2 separate regions of the Homo sapiens genome follow, and region 1 is linked to region 2. The links are contacts of gene promoters, found by promoter capture Hi-C in blood cells and fetal thymus (Javierre and others, 2016). All regions are on one chromosome and are shown on one strand. Each heading gives the region's core, a stretch centred on a gene start or on the middle of the fragment in contact. The rest is flanking DNA. Distances are from core to core; before and after follow the strand shown.

Region 1 (2,997 bases), core at 206-2,705, 2.8 Mb after region 2:
GCCATACTCTTAGCTGGCATATACCAAATAAGAATCTGAATGAATTTTATTAAGATTAAAATCAGAATAGTTAATTGTATTTTAATATAACATAATCCAAAATATAAAACCATATATAACTTGCTCTTTTGAAAATTAAATTAGCTTGAAAGAAAAACATTACATTGCTGTGCTGACATACTTTACACTACCATGTAGTATAGCAGTTTGGCTGTGGCTGTTTAACAAGCAGATCATCATTTCAAAGGTAAATAAAAATTCAAATTTAAAATGGTAGCAACTTTGGTATAAATAAAATCTATTGTTTCCTAGCACTACAACTAGCTTTTTATAAAATAGGTTTTTGTCAGTTCCAAGAATGATACATACAAAAGCCCTGAAATTAGTTTGAACCTGCTCTTCAAAGACAGTATTTCCACTGGGCAAACTGACACACAAGAAATACTGCAGGGAGTTTCAGAAGGCCTGTGTTTTAGTCCTGGCACATTGGCTAACTAAACCTGTGATCTTAGGAAAGTGATAAAACCTTTGAGCCTCAGTTCCTTTAACTACAGCATCGCAATAATTTCTGTATGTCCTAACAATATAAAAAGGGCTTTTGATAAGGATCAAAGGAAATAATAGTAAAAGAAGTTTGTAAAACTATAAAAAACAGCATATAATGCCAGGTTATCAAATACCATGAAATTTCACTTAGCCCAATTACTTGAGACTTTTTTCAAAGTATAATCTTTTTAGGAACGTATTTTACCTTAATACATTCATCACTTGGAATATCAAACACTTTCTCAATTTGGTTTTCAACCCTTTCAGGATCAGCATTCTTCAGATCTATCTTTAAAAAAAAAAATCCATTATGTGAAGTATAATAAAGATAAGATGTATTATGTATTAACAGTATTCGGAGGTAATTAAAAGCTTACCCACTTTAACCTAACTGACCCCTCTACAATATTTTTTCAAAAGCAGTAAAATAATCTATATATTAGCAGTATAATTTAATAACCATGATTGAAAAAGAGAAGTTAAGTAGCAGAGCTTGCAAAAAAAACTTAAGCAGTTAGCTACCCAGGGCAGCAGAAGAGATCAGTAGTAATTTATCAATTAAGCAGCATGTGAACTGATTTTAAAGGTTAAGTTAAATACAACATTAAGTCTGACAACAAGCTGTCTTACCTATGGCCTTCTTTTAAACTTAACTCCATTATCAAGAAATATAATTAAAGCAATGCAGATTTTAAAATTAAGATTCTAAATTAATTTTAAAATATGAAATGGAAGTTTATAGACAGAGCTCAGTTTAGCACTAAATTGTCATGCTTCATGTGTTGTATTGTTTCTTCCTAGATTATAAACTTCTCTTCTTTTCCTATGTATGGTTTAATCTGACAAACATGTTTCATCTGCCCTGCTTCCCTTCCCTACAGAAATGGCCCTCAGCTACCACAAGTTAATTCAGGAGAACTACCTTCTCAATTCTGTGCAAGGGTGAGTTTCAGTTGCACTTCTGTTATATACAATTCAAAGAGATAAATCCCACCAATATATTTAATAAATAGCTGGTGATCCCTCATATAATGAATAGTACAACTGACATTTAAACATTAATTGTACTTTTAGAAAGTGAAATAGCAACACTGTTGTCTCATTGTAATTACCTTATTTATAACTGGAATTACCGATAGCTGTGCTTCGAAGGCAAGAAAGAAGTTTGCTACAGTTTGGGCTTGAATTCCCTGAAAATATCAAGATACAAGATACTGAGATGACCATTCTATTATATATCACAAAACTTGTAATTTAAGACCATTCTATACATCTTCATCAAGAGATTTTGCGTTATGCTAATAATAAAATTAAACAAAATGCCATGTAGCTACCCTTCATGCTTTTCTCTCCAACTTATGTCTTTGGGGTCAATATGAAAATCGCTGATGGTAAAGCAATAATCACATCAAGTAGAGTGAGCCAACAGACAGTCTACTAAGCTTGAGATAGGAAGCCTTTAAGGAAAGGTACACGGCAGCTCAACTATGATACCTATTTTTCCATGCATCTGAATCATCCTCTGTAATAATTCCTTTCAGTTCAGAAAGCATTTATTGGAGGGCCTTTTCTGTGCCAGAAACTACATCAGGCATTGGAGAAACAAAAGATGTAACATGGACTCTCAAGGACCTCAAAGCTTATTAGAGAACACAGTCATCAAGGTAGTTTATAAAGGCCAGTACTGCCTACATAAGGTAGAGATTGACTTTCCTTGATGGGATCAGGAAAGGCTTAACGGCTTAACACAACACGGTCACCACCACCACTAAAAAAAAGTTGGGTTTTGAATGAAGAGTTTGTGAGAAACATGTAACAAAAGTTTATATTCACAGCTCTTACATGGTCATCTGCTGAGTGTCTTTACGGCTTACACAACAAAAGAGCTTAGTAATGTTACTGATTTTTTAAAAACCTAATACTTCCAAATTATTGCCTTAAAATCACCTAAAATGATCTGAAAACTAATGATTTATTCTTAAGATCTGCTAAAAATGGATATAGAAACCTCAGATTAAGAACTGCTAAAGTTGGTGGGGTTTTTTTGGTAAGATGCATTGACAATATGATGTCACACTTCAAAAAAATACAACAATCTTTTGAACAATTCCAATTTAAAAACTAGTCAATTCCAGAGAATGCTTTATTGTAATAATATTTCAGATTAACAGGATGAAACCATATGATTTTCAGTAAGTAACAGATTAAATCTATTTTTCAAACACAAAAATTCTATTTCCAAAACACATTTTAAAGAAAAACTCTTGAAACAACCAAATAGTCATGTCATATCACATCATACAAAATGAAAAATACCTACCTCATTTGCATCAACCACAAGTAAAACACCCTGGCAAGCAGAAAGTGACCTGGATACTTCATAACTAAAATCAACATGGCCCTGAGAAACAAAAATATTGATACCTGTAAATGTGAGTTAATTTTTTAGGA
Region 2 (2,798 bases), core at 278-2,777:
TAGGTAAGCCATATCATTTCAGTTCCTCAGCAGGGGTAGTCAAGCATGCAAACTGAGATCACCGTTTCTGGCCTCAGACCAGTGATTTTGTAACTACTATCTATGTGACCTTACAAAATATATTACTTCAAGTTCATTTCCTCATCTGTAATACCCACTGTACAAGGCTGTAGCAGGAATTAGTAAGATAAAAATATATGAAGGGTTTGACATATAGTAGATGCTTGAAAGTACTTTTCTCCCAATTATTATAATACATAAAATTTAAGTTTTTTTCTCAAAATAGACCTTACCCATCATTAGATTTACAGAAAGACTCAGGTGAAGTAGTTTTCCAGACTTCTCATTTTAACTATTACTAGGGGAGCTCCTATTCACAAAGTATCTTAAGACAATTACATTTAAGATAGGGCAATGAGTGTTGTGCATCTATCTGCATTAAGAACTAGAAAGTGGTAAATAAGTGAGGGACAGCTAAAATATCATGAAAACTCACGGGAGAAAGAAATTGACTTCACCTTTTAGAGTTGAGGCACACAGAGAAAGGACGTAGGAGGTAAACCTAGAATGCTGCTAATGAGTAGTTTTTCTCTGCGTAGCCCATAGATTGAATACTTTCTCTTCTGCTTCACCATTTTGCACCACTTTTATTATTAAATTTATAAATTAGATTGTAATTCCTGTTTCTGGTCTACTAGTTATTATTATCCGCTTTTGCAGGACATGCTCATTTTACCACCACTGAATTCTTCAGCACCTGATTAAAGTAACAGCTGTAATAAGAAATAACAGAAAGGATATTTGGACTTTGAGCTTAGTCCAACATTAATAGCATGGCTCTTGAGTCTGATTGATTTTGTTTAACTTCAGACTGGGCCTCTTACTTAGGTCAGTGATTTTTAGCGTTGCCAGATAAAATACAGGACACCAGTTAAATTTGAATTTCAGATGGACAAATAATTTTCAGTATAAATATATCCCATACAATATTTAGGGGATACTTACAACAAAATATTATTGTTTATCTGAAATTTCACATTTAACTGGACGCTTGGTATTTTCATTTGCTAAATCTGACAACCTTAGTGACTTCTCTAATCATGTTTGCTTTCTGCAAATAGGGCTGAAAATAGTACCTTCTCCCTAGGATGATCTATATACAGAACGTTGCTCATGGCAAAACCTTAATTTACCTTGCAAATCAGGATACTTTAGTAGAGACTTCTGTTAAAACTCTGGGACAATGACCATGCCCAGGCACCCAAAAAGATGGTTACCTTTATTCGACGGTTTTCTAAAGAGCACAGAGAAAGTTCAATAGAACCCTAAACAAAGGTACAAACTGCGTTGAAAGATACGTAAATGTGCCTTTAATAGCACAAGGGTATCTTAGCCACATCACTGCAAACTGCAGTCTCCCTGGTTACGGGGAAAGCGGTAGTTCGGTCTCTGCGCAAGCGCACAGGGACTTCTTGGGTCCACGCCCCTCCCCGCCGGCGAGAGTCACGTGGGCGAGTCGTAGCTTTAGACAAGCGGCCAGCCTTGACACGTGACCCAAGCCCCAGCTTCGCGCAGGGATGGAGCCGGAAGAGGGGACGCCCTTGTGGCGGCTGCAGAAGCTGCCGGCCGAGCTGGGCCCGCAGGTGAGGGCGGGTACCGGGGGAAGCGGCGCGGGGCCTGGGATTCGCGACAGCCCGGCGTGCGGATCAGGCCGGGTGCGACCCGGACGCCTTCGCAAGCTCCCTAGGGAAGGGAGGAGGAAGGGGCGTGATTTCGGGTGGTTGGTCCCCGCCTTCCCTGGGGAGCCTAGGAGGACAGCTTGGGGCGCCACCCCCAGCCTAGAGGTGCAGCTCCAGGGGCTTTGCGCGCAGAAGCGCCCACACCAGACTGGGCTTTGAAAGCTTAAGTCGGTGTTTGCTGCCTCTTAGTATACGTTTTCTTAATTCATTCAACACATAACCTCCCAAAGGCTCCCTACCTACCGGACAGCAGGTACAGAGCTAGGTGCTGGAATACAATGTGACAAAGACCGAAGCGGACCCTGCCTCCCCCCTTGAGGGTGGTTGGTAGGAAGAGAAATAACTGGGCGAGTTACTTTAGTTAGGATCGTCCCAAGAGGTGATGTACCCATTGACTTCCAGTCTGTAAAAGAACCTGGCTTGTAAGAATCTGGAAAAAGCAACCACATTCATTTGTTCAGCCAGTTTTTCATTGAAGTCTACCATAGATTGAGCGCCCCGATGGGATGAGGTAAATGGTGAGTGAGACACAGCCTGTGCCCTGGTGGAGCATCTTTTTTATAAGTCTCAATTTTGGCTTCCTGTTTCCTCTATTCCATTTATACTGGAGAAAGTGTGGAGGAGACAGAAAGGAATGAACTTACCTCCTGCCAGGGTCAAGAAAAAAAAACACCTAATTCTTTTCTTTGTTTTTGCAAGTGAGGAACCTGAAATGTCAGCAGAAATTTTGGCTAACTTGCCCAGGATTGCCCATCCAGTTAGTGGCAGAGCTGGAACTTATGCTCAGATCTGTTGATTCTGAGTGTTTTATTGGCTTTTGGCTCTCCTTGTCTTCACTCTACCCATTTAGATAAGGCCCATAACCTTTATTACCATATATGTCGATGACTTCTAAATCTTTAGGTCCAGCCAAAAATTTCTTCCTCTATGGTTCAAGAATGCCAGGTAAAAAACAAAACAAAACCCCAAAAACCCCAAACCAAAATCTCTTCCCTGAGTGTCAGGCTTCTGCCACAGGTACCTCAAATTCAGTATGCCCTTGCCTCAGCTCTTCTTTCC

The links. The method cuts DNA at HindIII sites, captures the fragments that hold promoters and counts their contacts. A CHiCAGO score of 5 or more calls a contact.
Region 1: a contact is called between a fragment that was not itself captured here and the fragment with the promoter of COMMD8 in region 2, in 3 of 17 cell types (naive CD8 T cells, naive CD4 T cells and non-activated CD4 T cells). The highest score is 7.8, in naive CD8 T cells.

What each region holds. Positions count from the first base shown.
Region 1 is chr4:44,681,073-44,684,069 of GRCh38, reverse strand. GUF1 (GTP binding elongation factor GUF1) reads right to left here. Exons shown (of 17, transcript NM_021927.3): 4 at 2,867-2,947; 5 at 1,659-1,736; 6 at 752-835. Among named protein-coding and RNA genes, the nearest start is that of GUF1, 4.2 kb to the right of the region's middle. The HindIII fragment of the contact is 1,070 bases long and covers 921-1,990 here.
Region 2 is chr4:47,462,431-47,465,228 of GRCh38, reverse strand. COMMD8 (COMM domain containing 8) reads left to right here and starts at 1,527. Exons shown (of 5, transcript NM_017845.5): 1 at 1,527-1,643. The coding sequence starts at 1,578. LOC107986277 (a long non-coding RNA gene) reads right to left here and starts at 1,346. Exons shown (of 3, transcript XR_001741683.3): 1 at 1,278-1,346. RefSeq lists a silencer at 1,537-1,796. The HindIII fragment of the contact is 2,743 bases long and covers 1-1,903 here.